5 separate regions of the Homo sapiens genome follow, and regions 2, 3, 4 and 5 are each linked to region 1. Evidence: promoter capture Hi-C in 16 types of primary human blood cells and fetal thymus (Javierre and others, 2016). All regions are on one chromosome and are shown on one strand. Each heading gives the region's core, a stretch centred on a gene start or on the middle of the fragment in contact. The rest is flanking DNA. Distances are from core to core; before and after follow the strand shown.

Region 1 (2,762 bases), core at 215-2,714:
GGACAATTGCTTGAGGCCAAGAGTTCGAGACCAGTCTGGGCAACAAAGTAAGACCCTGTCTCTACAAAAAAAATAAAAAATAAAAGGTAGATCCAATTCATTCAAATAGTATTCACTAGCACCTACAATGTTCCGAGCCAGGTGCTGAGTATCATGGGAGAAAAAAAAAAAAAGCCAGAGTCACAGCTCTGGCAGGGCGTGGTGGCTCACGCCTGTAATCCCAACACTTTGGGAGGCCGAGGCGGGTGGATCACCTGAGATCAGGAGTCCGAGACCAGCCTGACCAACATGGTGAAACCCCGTCTCTACAAAATACAAAAAATAGCCGGGTGTGGTGGCGCGCACCTGTAGTCCCAGCTACTCGGGAGGCCGAGGCAAGAGAATAGCTTGAACCCGGGAGGGAGAGGTTGCAGTGAGCCGAGACTGCACCACTGCACTCCAGCCTGGGCAACAAGAGTGAAACTCCGTCTCAAAAAAAAAAATAATGATAATTTTGGGAGGCCTAGGCGGTCGGATCACCTGAAGTCGGGAGTTTGAGACCAGCCTGACCAACATGGAGAAGCCCCGTCTCTACTAATAATACAAAATTGGCCGGGCGTGGTGGTGCACGCCAGTAATTCCAGCTACTTGGGAGGCTGAGGCAGGAGAATCTCTTGAACCCGGGAGGCGGAGGTTGCGGTGAGCCGATATCGCGCCATTGCCCTCCAGCCTGGGCGACAGAGCGAGACTCCGTCTCAAAAAAAACAAAAACCAAAAACCAAAAAACTAAGTACGTCTTTTAATCTATTTCTCCAAAGAAGCTTCTATATTCTACTTTCCAGCCAGCCCCTAGAAACAAGCAGTATACTTCTACCCAGATCTCAACCACACTCCCGCCCAGAAGTTAACTCTGGGGTGAGCAAAGCTGGCCCCCACGTTGTCCTTCCGCAGAACCTTTGGTAGGGTAAGCTCCCGGGGCCACTTCCCGCCAACCCCTCCCTGCAGCCCAGCCCCACCCGCGCATCCCCGGGCGTGGCCGAGCACGGCGCCTTTAAGAAGGGGGAGGCGCCCAAGAGGAAAGACAAAGCCCCTGGCCGCGCGCTCACCCTCCCCCTCCGGCGCACCACACGGACAGTGGTGCCCGGATGTCGGTGTCGCCGTCGGTGACAGATGGCGCAGTATCTGTATATGCGAGGGGCTTCTCCGGCTTGACCTCTTTGAGTTCTCGTCCTCTCCATCCCCCGCTGTCCCCCACTTTTAACTCTGCCGTCGGAGGCCCGCACGCCTATCACGGGCGCTTACATAACGTGACCTTTCACCTCTTCAGACTGCCCTCTAGTGCGCTGCAACCCAACTACGCGACAGGGGCAGGGGGGCGGGACCCAGGCGCGGAGCGGCAGCTCCTCCGAGCCAATAGGCTGTGAGCGCTGACCAGCTCTCCGCCTATTGGAGCATTCGCCACCGGCGCCACGGGGGAGCAAGTTAGTGTGTGCGTTGGCCGGGCCCGGGGGAGGAGGGGAATCTCCCGCCATTTTTCAATAATTTCCTCCGGTGCTGCTGAGGAGGAGTCGTGACTGCCGGCCGCCGGGACCCGAAGCGGAGGTCGGCGGGGGGCTGCTGGGAGGCGCGGCGGTGTGCGCGGGAGCTCTGCGCCGTGGCGTTCCGCTCCATGACTGTCGCGCGGCCGCGCCGGCGGTGAGGGAGCCGGAGTTCGCGCCGCCCTCTCACCCCTCCCTTCCCCCACCCCACCCCCGGGCGCCTGGCGCTCGCTCCGGGCCGCGGGGCCTAGTGCTGCGCCGCGGGGCCGGCCCCAGCAGCCGCCAGTCCCCACCGCCGCCGCCGCGATGGCGCCGCTCCTGGGCCGCAAGCCCTTCCCGCTGGTGAAGCCGTTGCCCGGAGAGGAGCCGCTCTTCACCATCCCGCACACTCAGGAGGCCTTCCGCACCCGGGAGTATCCTTTTCCAGCCGCGCGGGCCGGGCTGGGCCGGGCTGGGCCGGGGTAGGGCCTGGGGCTCGCGAGACCAGGTCAGCCGCGCATCCCCGGCCCGGGGCAGCTGTCAGCGCGCCCCGGCCGCTCGCGGGCCTGGAGGCTGAGTCTCAGCCTGCGCCCGCCGATCCTTCCAGGGGATCCGGCGGGGGGCGCGCACCGGCCCTGGAAGGAGAAGGGCCCGCTTCGGCCGCCCCCGGGGCCCCGCACTTTGTCCCGGGGCCTCGCCGGCGAGGAGCGCATCCCCCATCCCCATTACCTTCCCCGGGTTGGCTTTAGGCCTTGAGGACCCGAGAGGGAGGAGGAGGCGTGGGGAGGGGGAGCTAGGTTTTCTCCTTTAATTTTTACAAAAATTTTTTAAAAATTTAAATGAAACCTGCAGCTTAAGTTTTGAAATTGTACTCGCGCGGCCTCGTGATGCGGCGTGTGCAAGACTCAACTGCGTCTTACCCCGATCTCTGCGGGGATACTTGGCGTTTTTTTCGTCTCCCGAGGGGACTTTAGGCCGGGGATGAACTGACAGGACCCTGGGGCAGAAAACTAGGAATGAGATTCCCCGCTTAGAGGAAAGGGAGGGAAGGAAACTGCCTGTGGAGGAGCTGATGCCTGCCTTCCCTGGGCAGACACAGGTTTGAAATTTTGAAGGTTTAGAAGGAGATTGGTATTTGTTAAAATTAAACAAACAAAAAAACCAAGACGTGAAGTTTTTATGTTGTATTTTAGGAACATGAAATTGGATGTTTTACAAAGGAAGCATCCTCTCGTCATGACTAAGATTTCTTGCATAAGCATTATC
Region 2 (2,700 bases), core at 29-2,528, 610 kb after region 1:
GTAGTGGTCCCCCGGGCCCAGCTGTCTTTTCTTTTATCTCTTTGTCTTGTGTCTTTCTTTCTACACTCTCTCATCGCTGCACACAGGGAGAAGCCCACCGACCCTGTGGGGCTGGTCCCTGCAGCTGGCACCTTGATCTTTGACTTCTGGCCTCTAGAACTGTGAGAAAATAACTTCCAGCTGTTGAAACCACATGGTCTGTGGCATTTCGTGATGGTAGCCCTAGCAAACTAATACAGACTTCCTAAATCCGAGAAGGAAAGCTGGGGAGAATTCCTCTGGGAAAGCAGAAAAGCTGGGGAGAATTCCTCTGGGAAAGCAGAAAAGCTGGGGAGAATTCCTCTGGGAAAGCAGGGCAGTCACAAGCACTCAGGTGTTACACGGGCTTTGTCCAGGGCAGGATGCTCGCTCAGAAAGACCTAAGCTTTCACCTTGGCCTGATTACGAGGGTCAGTGCAGGCCCAGCTAAGTGCTGAAGAAAAGCTGTGGTGCAAAGGCAAACTTCAAAGACTGGGAGAGGTGTTTTCTTCCATTTTTAGCTCCTAGTATTCAAGGAAATCTCTATCAAAATGTGAGCTGAACACAAGCTAAAAGAATCAGAGACTTCAGTGACCACACATGAAAATGATAAATCTTTGCAAAAATAGTTTGGAAGTCACTAAATGTATGTACTACTACAGCCTTCAATGATTAAAAACACACTCACTCACAGACACATAGCAAACAATGAGAAGTATCATCTAAATGCCAGAGTTACTACCTTGCAATATTCAAATGTCCATGTTTCAATGACAGTCACAAATCATGCCAAGACAAAGGAACGTATCCAAAATAACAAAATAAATTGATGGAAATCAGCCCTTAGGAAGCCCAGACGTTGGACTTAGCAGACAAAAACTTTTTAAAAACTCTCATAAATCATGAAGTACCTCTTCAAGGAGAACTACAAACCACTGCTCAAGGAAATAAGAGAGTACACAAACAAATGGAAACACATTCCATGCTCATAGATAGGAAGAATCAATATTGTGAAAATGGCTATACTACCCAAAATAATTTACAGAGTCAATGCTATTTCCAACAAGCTACCACTGACTTTCTTCACAGAACTAGAAAAACTACTTTAAATTTCATATGGAACCAAAAACGAGCCTGTATAGCCAAGACAATACTAAGCAAAAAGAACAAAGCTGTAGGCATCACGCTACCTGACTTCAAACTATACTACAAGGCTACAGTAACCAAAACAGCATGGTACTGGTACCAAAACAGATACATAGACCAATGGAACAGAATAGAGACCTCAGAAATAACACCACACATCTACAACCATCTGATCTTCGACAAACCTGACAAAAACAAGCAATGGGGTAAGGATTCTCTATTTAATGGTGCTGGGAAGACTGGCTAGCCATATACAGAAAGCTGAAACTGGACCCTGTCCTTACACCTTATAAAAAACTAACTCAAGATGGATTAAAGACTTAAATGTAAAATCCAAAACCATAAAAATCCTAGAAGAAAACCTAGGCAATACCATTCAGGACATAGGCATGGGCAAAGACTTCATGACTAAAACACCAAAAGCAATTGCAACAAAAGCCAAAATTGACAAATGGGATCTAACTAAACTAAAGAGCTTCTGTATAGCAAAAGAAACTAGCATCAGAGTGAACAGGCAACCTACAGAACGGGAGAAAATTTTTGCAACCTACCCATCTGACAAAGGTCAGGTCCAGATCTTGTAGATTCTTGTAGATCCAGAAACTACAAGGAACTTAAACAAATTTACAAGGAAAAAACAAACAACCCCATCAAAAAGTGGGCAAAGGGCCAGGCACGGTGGCTCACGCCTGTAATCCCAACACTTTGGGAGGCCAAGGTGGGTGGATCACCTGAGCTCAGGAGTTCAAGACTAAAAATACAAAAATTACTAAATTACTCTACTAAAAACACAAAAATTAGCCTGGCATGGTGGTGGGCGCCTATAATCTCAGCTACTTGGGAGGCTGAGGCAGGAGAATCTCTTGAACCCAGGAGGCGGAGGTTGCAGTGAGCCTGGATCACGCCACTGCACTCCAGCCTGGGCAACACAGTGAGACTCTGTCTCAAAACACAAACAAAAAGCTTGGGCGCAGTGGCTCATACTTGTAATCCCAGTGCTTTGGGAGGCCAAAGCAAGTGGATCACCTGAGGTCAGGAGTTCAAGACCAGCCTGGCCAACATGGGGAAACCCTGTCTCTATTAAAAATACAAAAAATTTAGCCGGGTGTAGTAGTGCACACCTGTAATCCCAGCTACTAGGGAGGATGAGGCAGAAGAATTGCTTGAACCTGGGAGGTGCGAGGCGGAGGAGGAGCCGAGATCGTGCCACTGTACTCCAGCCTAGGTGAGTGAGACTCGTCTCAAAAACAAACAAAAAGCAGTGCATGTTGGCTAGTTTGTTAATCAATATTAGTTAGTTATTAGCTCTGAATAGATGCCAGGTAATATGCTAGGCACTGATGACATACTCATGACGCAGAGCTGGTCCCAATGCTAGAATGATCTTTGTTCCTGAGATCCAGGTTGCTGCTGCCACTAGAGGGCAGCCGAAGCTCATCTGTAATGGCACAGTAATGGTTAACCCCAACAATCTAACATTACCAGGGAAGAACTGTCCTGAAGGGCAAAGTACCAAGCTACCTAAAGTTTGTATTG
Region 3 (2,735 bases), core at 236-2,735, 650 kb before region 1:
TTGGGAGGCTGAGGTGGGAGGATGGCTTGAGCCTGGGAAGTCGAGGCTGCACTGAGCTATGATCCTGCCACTGCACTCCAGCCTGGGTGACAGAAGGAGAGCCTATTTCATAAATAAATACATGTTTCTAACTCATATGTGGGGAAAACGAGGCTCAGAGAGGTGAAGAAACTTACTTCAGATCACACAACTAACACATGGCTGAACTGATGAAACTCTGGTCTGCCTTATTCCAAAGCCAGGGCTTTTACATGAACCGTCATGCAGAGACCTCTTAGCAAATCCAAATATTTCTGGTAACACTTTTCATAGAGGATAATGGTTTGGAACTAAGCAATGGAACACTTGGAGTGAAGAAGGATAACAAACCTAAACGACTTGACATTTGACATGTAAACAGCATTTTAAAATAAGCTTTTCAATAGCTTTACAGGCCCTAGCATCAGTGAAAACTAGCTGTAGTTTTTATACACTGCTTTCCTTCCTATTACATACAAATCTTAAAATATGCTCAGAGACAGGAAGTAGAATGGTGGTTGCCAGGGACCTGGGGGAAGGAGGGCAATAGGGAATTACTATTCAAAGGGGACAGGGTTTTAGTTTTACAAGCTGTAAGAGTTAAGGAGCTGGATAGTGGTGATGGTTATACATTACGAATACACTCAATATCCCTGAAATGTATACTGAAAAATGGGTAAAGTGGCACATTTTATGTTATGTATATTTTACCACCATAAAAATTTTGGATAAAAATATGCTCAGAAATTTAGACAGACATGCTAAGTTTAAAGATTCAAAGGTTAGAATTCTAAACTCCTAGGCTGGGCGTGGTAGCTCATGCCTGTAATCCCAACACTTTGGGAGGCTGAGGCGGGAGGATCACTTGAGTCCAAGAGTTCAAGACCAGCCTGGGCAACATAGTGAAACCCATCTCTATTTAAAAAAGAATTCTAAACTCCCTAACTGAATCCTGATAAAGAATAAATTTGGAGTTTTGCCAGTTTTTAGATGGCACCATTTCAGCCACCTCAATTCTTGCCACCTCCAATTTCCACCCTAATTCTCAGGATCGGTGGTTTTCCACTAAGCACTCATAGCTTTGTTGCAATTAGAAATATAAAATCAGTATTACTCTGCACTTTACTGCCAATGGTAGATGAGAAACTGGAACCTCAAAAAGATAATTTAGCAAACTGCAAAACAAAGTCCATTCAAGATCTGGTACAATCAACTCTTGATCATTTGGAATTTTGTTTTGATTTGCTTGCTGAACAATGCAGTCCCTGGTTCTCTCCCTGGCTGCTGGGGACATGCCCTTACAGGCTCGGGGGAAAAAAGCAGTGGTTCAATACTGTTTCCTGACAACTGCACTGGTTATTAAACACAACTACGAAATAAACTTAGGAAGATGTATAACTACCAAACTATGTTTTATGATGATAACTGTTCATTTTAGGCCTACCATTTCTTTCACCTGTGACCCAAGTAATTCAGAGGTGAGATGTACGAGCCTGTCTGAGGCATTTTAGACAAGGGAGAAGGTGCCTACACAAGTACCAAACAATGCAGTGTTAAAACTGCTTTCCATAGGTGGCAATCTTCTATGATGCTTAAGCATTGTAAAGCAGTGACATTTGTTCATGTGGACATAATTAAAATAATTGAGGCCGGGCGCGGTGGCTAATGCCTGTAATCCCAGCACTTTGGGAGGCTGAGGCAGGAGAATCGCTTAAACCCGGGAGGTGGAGGTTGCAGTGAGCCGAGATCACACCATTGCACTCCAGCTTGGGCAACAAGAGTGAAACTCCATCTCAAAAAAAAAAAAAAAGAATACACATGTATAAATGAATATGTAAATTCACCAACAAGTTTTTAAAACTACTTCTGAAAGTAGCAATACTTTATGTAGTTTCACATTAATATGAAGCCAAATAGAAAATTCCAAGTAAGTGAGACATAGAAGATGCTTAACAGTAAAGAGACTTTCTATTAGGAAGTTCAAGTGATGCACAGTGCTACCTAGGAAACTCTCCTATCAGTTTTTGGAGTACACCTGGGGCAAATGGCTAATATTTTCATCTGCTGTGGAGATTTGAAATTAATAGCATCTTAATAGAATTTTACTTCTGATTGTTCCTGGCACCCCCAAATGTCAAAATTTGACACCAGAAGAGCTGGCAAATGTGTCTGAAGGAAATTTTTTTAAATCCCCACACTCAGTTTAATAAGGTCACCTTATTGTAGTCCCAATGCAACTAAAACTTAAATTGACCACGCTGTTTAAGAAGAATTTTTCTGGGTACTTCTGTGAACGTTTTTTGGAACTAGGAAAAAAAAAAAAACCCTAGTTATTAAATTTCGAAATGACTTGAGAACAAATTTGATGTTTAGAAACCTAACCCAAAGGCGATAATTTCATGTCATCCAACATTTACTTCTTTTTTTATTAGCAAATAAAATGTTCTTTGGAATGACAATAGCTCCACCTACACCGGCACACTTCCACGTTACAGTATCATGAACATTAGCTACACTCCTGCCCCGAAACAAGCTTTTGTCTGAGCCGTTCCCAAACCAAGGTATTAAAAGTGATCATTCTTTACCAAACAAAGATACTTTTGGACTGCAACCCAGGAGACTGAACACCTCAGTGTGTATTATTGTGGTGTTATCCTGGGAAAGTAATCCTTTCTGCAAGAAAACACAAAGCCCAAGTGTGTCCTTGACAAACAGCA
Region 4 (2,798 bases), core at 92-2,591, 590 kb after region 1:
CGAGTTCGAGACCATCCTAGCCAACATGGTGAAAACCCATCTCTACTAAAAATACAAAAATTAGCCGGGCATGGTGGTGGGTGCCTGTAATCCCAGCTACTTGGGAGGCTGAGACTGGGGAATTGCTTGAACCCAGGAGGTGGAGGTTGCAGTGAGCCAAGGTCACAGCACTGCACTCCAGCCCGGGCGACAGTGCGAGACTCTGTCTCAAAAGAAAGAAAAAAAAAAAGACTGTACAGTAAAAAGTAAATTTCCTTTTTATCTCAGTAATGATTGCCAGTTTTTAATATATCCTGTAAGAATTATTTTATGCATATTAAAAGATTTTTAAAAGCCCGAATAATAGAGGATACTATACAGTTCTGAGCCTTGTTTTTATGTAATTGCTTTTTGAGATCATTCTCATGAGTACTTCTTCAGTTGCCTTATTCTTTTTCATAGTTACATAGTATATTCCAACTTACACCAATACTGTAAGTTATTCAGTCAGCTCCCTGAAAAGATAACATGTACATTGTTTCCAAGCTGCTATTATTAAAACAATGTTACATTAAATCCTTGTATCCATTTCCCAGTATGTGTGTAGGATAACTTCCTAAAGGTAAAGCTGCTTGATCAAAGGGTGCATGTATCTCTTATGTGGACAATTCCTGTCACAAAGCCCTCTAGAGAGCTGTACCAACTGACACTCCCACCAGCAACGCGTGAGGAGCCTGTTTCTTCTAACACTGCACTTCTATGGTTTCTATTTTACGTTCAAAACTTTGCTTCATTTGGAATAGGTTTCTCTACTATAGGAAAAACTCTTGAACATGAGATTTGGCTGGTAGCCCTTCAGAAAAATGGGTAAAGGATATGAACTAAGACTCATGGAAACAGAACTGAAAATAATCATTCAACATATGAACAGATGATCAAACTACTCATAAGAGACAAAAATTAGATACCTTTTTTTCTTTGAGACAGAATCTCACTCTGTCGTCCAGGCTGGAGGGCAGTGGCGTGAGCTCGGCTCACTTGACCTCTGCCTTTCAGGGTCAAGCAGTTCTCCTGCCTCAGCCTCCCAAGTAACTGGGATTACAGGCACACACGACCACGCCTGGCTAAATTTTTTGTATTTTTAGTAGCAACCGGTTTTTGCCACGTTGGCCAGGCTGGTCTCAAACTCCGGATTTCAGGTGATCCACCTGCCTCAGCCTCCCAAAGTGCTGGGATTACAGGTGTAAGCCACCAAGCTCGGCTGGCTTTTTTTTTTTTTTTGAGACAGAGTCTCACTCTGTCGCCCAGGCTGGAGTGGAGTGGCGCTATCTCTGCTCACTGCAACCCCTGCCTCCCAGGTTCCTGATATTCTCCTTCCTCAGCCTCCTGAGTAGCTGGGATTACAGGCATGTGCCACCATGCCCAGCTAATTTTTATGTTTTTAGTAGAGACAGGATTTCACCATGTTGGCTAGGATGATCTCGAACTCCTGACCTCCAGTGATCTGCCTTCCTCGGCCTCTCAAAGTGCTGGGATTACAGGCATGAGCTGCCACGCCTGTCTTAGATACTATTTTTAACCTGTGAAATTGGTAAAAGCCCAGAGCTACAATAACCAAATCTGCTGGTGAGGCCATGGAGAAATGGTCCCTCTCATACAACGCTGAGGGGAATGCTGAGTGGTGCATGCTCTGTAGGGGGATTTAACAATATCCAGCAAAATTACATGCGCATTTAACCTTTGACCTGGGAATCTGACTTCTAGGAACTTTCCAGAGGCAAAATTGCCAAGGATGAAATGACATATGAACAAATGTATTCTTTGCAGCATTATTTGTGATAGCAGAAGACTGAAACAACCCAACATTTGTCAACAGAGGACTAAAGTACCTATGCAGTTTTAAGACCAAAGATGAGTTTCTGTGTACTGCTATGGAATGACCTCAACTATCTATTATGTGAAAAAGCAAGGTTCAAATCTGTATATACTGTCTACTACCTTAAATGTTAGAAGGTGGCGGTTTTCAGATACACTGATATGCATACCGTTTAAAAAACAATAAAGGATAATCAAAAAATAAAAATGGAGAGGAAGGAAAAATGTAGAGTGGAAAGGGATGGAAACTGAATTTTTGAGTGTATCTTGTTTTAGTGTATTTTTTTTGAAACAACTTATTGTTTCAAAGATTTTACATAATTTAAAACAGAACTATTTCAAAAAGGAAAACACAGAAATCCCTGTAACTTTCAAACATACTGAACAAACGAACCTCACTGTATATAAAGTTGGTGTACCCAAAGGACAATTAACATTACTTTAAAACACGATATATTGATTACATGTCCGTAGCATTCACACAGGGATATAAAGACAAATGAATCACAATTCTTAAACTGACTTCAGCCGTCTTAATAATGACAGTGTTAACAATGACACTGATACCGCTATTTTGAAATTGCATGGGCCAGGCGTGGTGGCTCATGCCTGTAATCCCAGCACTTTGGGAGGCCAAGGTGGGTGGATCACCTGAGGTCACGAGTTCGATGCCAGCCTGGCCAACATGGTGAAATCTCGTCTCTACTAAAAATACAAAAATTAGCTGGGCATGGTGGCGGGCACCTATAGTCTCAACTACTTGGGAGGCTGAGGCAGGAGAATCGCTTGAACTCAGGAAGCGGAGATTGCAGTGAGTCAAGGTCGCACCACTGTGCTCCAGCCTGGGCGACAAGAGTAAGACTCCGGCAAAAAAAAAAAAAAAGAAATTGCGTGTTACTAGGATCAAAGTAATTATAAACCGACATTTTTGGTGTAATACATAA
Region 5 (2,755 bases), core at 228-2,727, 700 kb after region 1:
CTGCCCACAGTTCTGCAGCCACTCGGTACGGCGCTAACGCCGCGAGGTAGCTCGGTGCGTCTCGCAGTACCAGTGCGAACCTTTGGGCTCTCCAGGTCCGAGATCCTAGTCTCCTGTCGGCTCTGAGGAGGATGGGTAAGGGCACTCGGCGGGCAAGGACCCTGGGGCGGCAGGGGAGGTAAACGTTTTACTGAGACCCTCTCCGGGCGGAGTGGCGTCCTCGGTCCCCTTCCTTCGGAGACTGTTGCACTTGACAGCACCGGCTAGCCGCCGCTGAGAGCAAGGAGGACCGATCCCTACTTTTGACCTGGCTTTTGCCTTTTGAGGCTAGGGGGTTAGACAGAAAACTACCCCTCCCACTTTACCCACGTGTATTAGGACTTTTGCACCTGTAAAGCCTAAATTTCAGGCTTCGACTTTTGAAATTGCTGCCAGGTTGAACGTTTGAAGCCAGGTCCTTCCATATCTCTCTTAAAAAAAAAAATGAGACGTAAGGTCAGTTACTTGAGAATCTTTTACAAGTTTAACCGTGAGCCTTTGAAAGTACAGTTAGTAAAAAGAATACTTTTACTACTTAAGCTTTTTTTATGGAGCAAGCACAACAAAACAATTAACTTAATTTCACATGAAGTATTTTTACTTTATGTTCCTTCTCTTGCTTCTAAATGCTCATTTCGAAGTGAAGATACAGTTTTATATTCTGTTTTTTCTTTGAGTTAGTGTTAACAGTATGATAATTTTATTACGTTACTACATAGTGTGTTATTTTTATTACAGTTGATTCCCCCGCCCCCCCCACGAGATGGAGCCTTGCTCTGTCGCCCAGGCTGGAGTGCGGTGGCGCAATCTTGGCTCACTGCAACCTCTGCCTCCCAGGTGCAAGCAGTTCTCCTGCCTCAGCCTCCCGAGTAGCTGGGATTACAGGCGCGCGCCACCATGCCCGGCTAATTTTTGTATTTTTAGTAGAGGCGGGGTTTCACCATGTTGGCCAGGCTGGTCTCGAACTCCTGACCTCAGGTGATCTGCCCGCCTCAGCCACCCAAAGTGCTGGGATTACAGGCATGAGCCACTGTGCCCGGCCAACAGTTGATTTTTAAATTAGATTTCTTAGCTGGGTTGTTGAATGTAAGGTTGGTTTTATTTTCTTCTTAAAATCGGGAAGGATATCTTTGTATATGTAGCTTTAAATGAAATTATCTGTGTGTGTCATTTTAAATTTAGATCCTTCTGCGGATACATGGGACCTCTCCTCACCTTTAATATCATTATGGATAAACAGGTTTTACATTTATCTGGGCTTTGCTGTTAGCATTAGCCTTTGGATTTGTGTCCAGATTGTCATCGAGATGCAGGTAAGTGGAGTTATTTTTTTTAATAGAGTATTTAGGCATCAGATTTTATAGAGGATTTAAACACTAAAAGGAACCTTTAATTACTTTTGTGTTTGGTCTTTAGACATTTTAATGAAATGCCTAAAATAAATTTCTTCTCTAAGTTTTTGGAGACTAAGTTATCTTGGATTAAGTTACTTACTTTTTCTTTGATAGGTGTGTCTCATTTTTAAGATACAGGAAGATTTTTGTAATGAAAAGTGAACCTTTTATATGAAAAACAAATTTGTTTTATACCTTTAAGGGTCAGTAGTCCTCTCTTTCCATTAATTAAGGATCAGAAAATAAGTTCCTACTATTATTCTACTAAAATACCTTATAGGATAAAAGTATGTAAAGTTTTTTCTTGGAGGGAATGGAAATCATGAGCCTTAAAAATGTGGGTCCTGCCTATTAAAGGACCTTATTATACCAAGGGGCTAATATTTGAGGAATACAACCAGAAAGATTTAAGAGAAAAATACAGGTGTGTCAGATTAAGAGAAAAATAAAGTGTGTCAGTATCTGTGCTACCTTTCATCCCTGCTGAAGTTGGGAAACGATTTAGGCTTGATGGATTTTGTGTAATTATTTGTCTTCAAGGGCAGGAACTTACAGGAAAAATCTGTTCCAAAAGCAGCTCAGGATTTGATGACAAATGGTTATGTCTCCCTTCGAGAGAAAGACATCTTTGTGTCTGGAGTGAAGATTTTTTATGGTTCTCAGACTGGAACAGCAAAGTTAAGAAGTTTATATGATGCTTTTCCTTTGGTTTCCTGACATTTTAAGAAAATCCCTTTAGCAGTGAACTTTAGCAGTGAACTGTCCTTTAGCAGTGAACTGAATTGGTCATCTAACCTTCTTTATTCTTTCTCCCAGCCTTTTCCCCTCAAATATTTTTCCTTTCTGCGATGGTAGGCGGGTTTCATCTCCTGTGCCCAGTTAGAGCTGACTGGTGGTGTCTGATGGTCACTGTCTTGAGGGGGCCTTTGTTCTGAAGCTTGCTTCTGCCTCAGCAGGCTAGAGAAAGTTGTGAGTCCATTATCGATGCCCATGGGTATGGAAGTAGGGAATAGGGAAAAAAGGATGGCACCAATAGTTCCAATATGGGCCTGACTTTCACATCACACATCTATGTTTATTTTTTATTTTGTTTTTTGAGACAGAGTCTCACTCTGTCACCCAGGCTGGAGTGCAGTGGCACGATCTCGGCTCACTGCAACCTCCACCTCCACCTCAAGCAATTCTCCTGCCTCAGCCTCCCGAGTAGCTGGGATTATAGGTGCCTGCTACCACGCTCTGGCTAATCTTTGTATTTTTAGTAGAGATGGGGTTTTGCCACGTTGGCTGGGCTGCTCTCAAACTCCTGGGCTCAGGTGATGCGC

The links. The method cuts DNA at HindIII sites, captures the fragments that hold promoters and counts their contacts. A CHiCAGO score of 5 or more calls a contact.
Region 2: a fragment that was not itself captured here is called in contact with the fragment with the promoter of BAZ1B in region 1 in 2 of 17 cell types (neutrophils and naive CD4 T cells); the score reaches 7.5 in neutrophils.
Region 3: a fragment that was not itself captured here is called in contact with the fragment with the promoter of BAZ1B in region 1 in 5 of 17 cell types (activated CD4 T cells, fetal thymus, non-activated CD4 T cells and 2 more); the score reaches 6.5 in activated CD4 T cells.
Region 4: a fragment that was not itself captured here is called in contact with the fragment with the promoter of BAZ1B in region 1 in 1 of 17 cell types (total B cells); the score reaches 5.5 in total B cells.
Region 5: a contact is called between a fragment that was not itself captured here and the fragment with the promoter of BAZ1B in region 1, in 3 of 17 cell types (total B cells, non-activated CD4 T cells and total CD4 T cells). The highest score is 7.4, in total B cells.

Annotation. Positions count from the first base shown.
Region 1 is chr7:73,520,995-73,523,756 of GRCh38, reverse strand. It overlaps BAZ1B (bromodomain adjacent to zinc finger domain 1B), which reads left to right and starts at 1,464. Exons shown (of 20, transcript NM_032408.4): 1 at 1,464-1,930. The coding sequence starts at 1,824. RefSeq lists silencers at 851-990, 1,341-2,220 and an enhancer at 1,121-1,280. The HindIII fragment of the contact is 2,091 bases long and covers 803-2,762 here.
Region 2 is chr7:72,915,101-72,917,800 of GRCh38, reverse strand. It overlaps a transcript of POM121 not described here. Among named protein-coding and RNA genes, the nearest start is that of POM121, 8.6 kb to the left of the region's middle. The HindIII fragment of the contact is 1,703 bases long and covers 427-2,129 here.
Region 3 is chr7:74,175,333-74,178,067 of GRCh38, reverse strand. All of the region lies in intron 1 of EIF4H (eukaryotic translation initiation factor 4H), which reads right to left. Among named protein-coding and RNA genes, the nearest start is that of EIF4H, 2.3 kb to the right of the region's middle. RefSeq lists an enhancer at 2,647-2,735. The HindIII fragment of the contact is 2,137 bases long and covers 417-2,553 here.
Region 4 is chr7:72,931,514-72,934,311 of GRCh38, reverse strand. The region is part of intron 5 of POM121 (POM121 transmembrane nucleoporin); the gene reads right to left. Among named protein-coding and RNA genes, the nearest start is that of POM121, 7.8 kb to the right of the region's middle. RefSeq lists a silencer at 55-245. The HindIII fragment of the contact is 3,243 bases long and covers 1-2,798 here.
Region 5 is chr7:72,825,452-72,828,206 of GRCh38, reverse strand. It overlaps TYW1B (tRNA-yW synthesizing protein 1 homolog B), which reads left to right and starts at 7. Exons shown (of 14, transcript NM_001145440.3): 1 at 7-135; 2 at 1,222-1,352. The coding sequence starts at 132. RefSeq lists an enhancer at 1-37 and a silencer at 1-97. The HindIII fragment of the contact is 1,791 bases long and covers 582-2,372 here.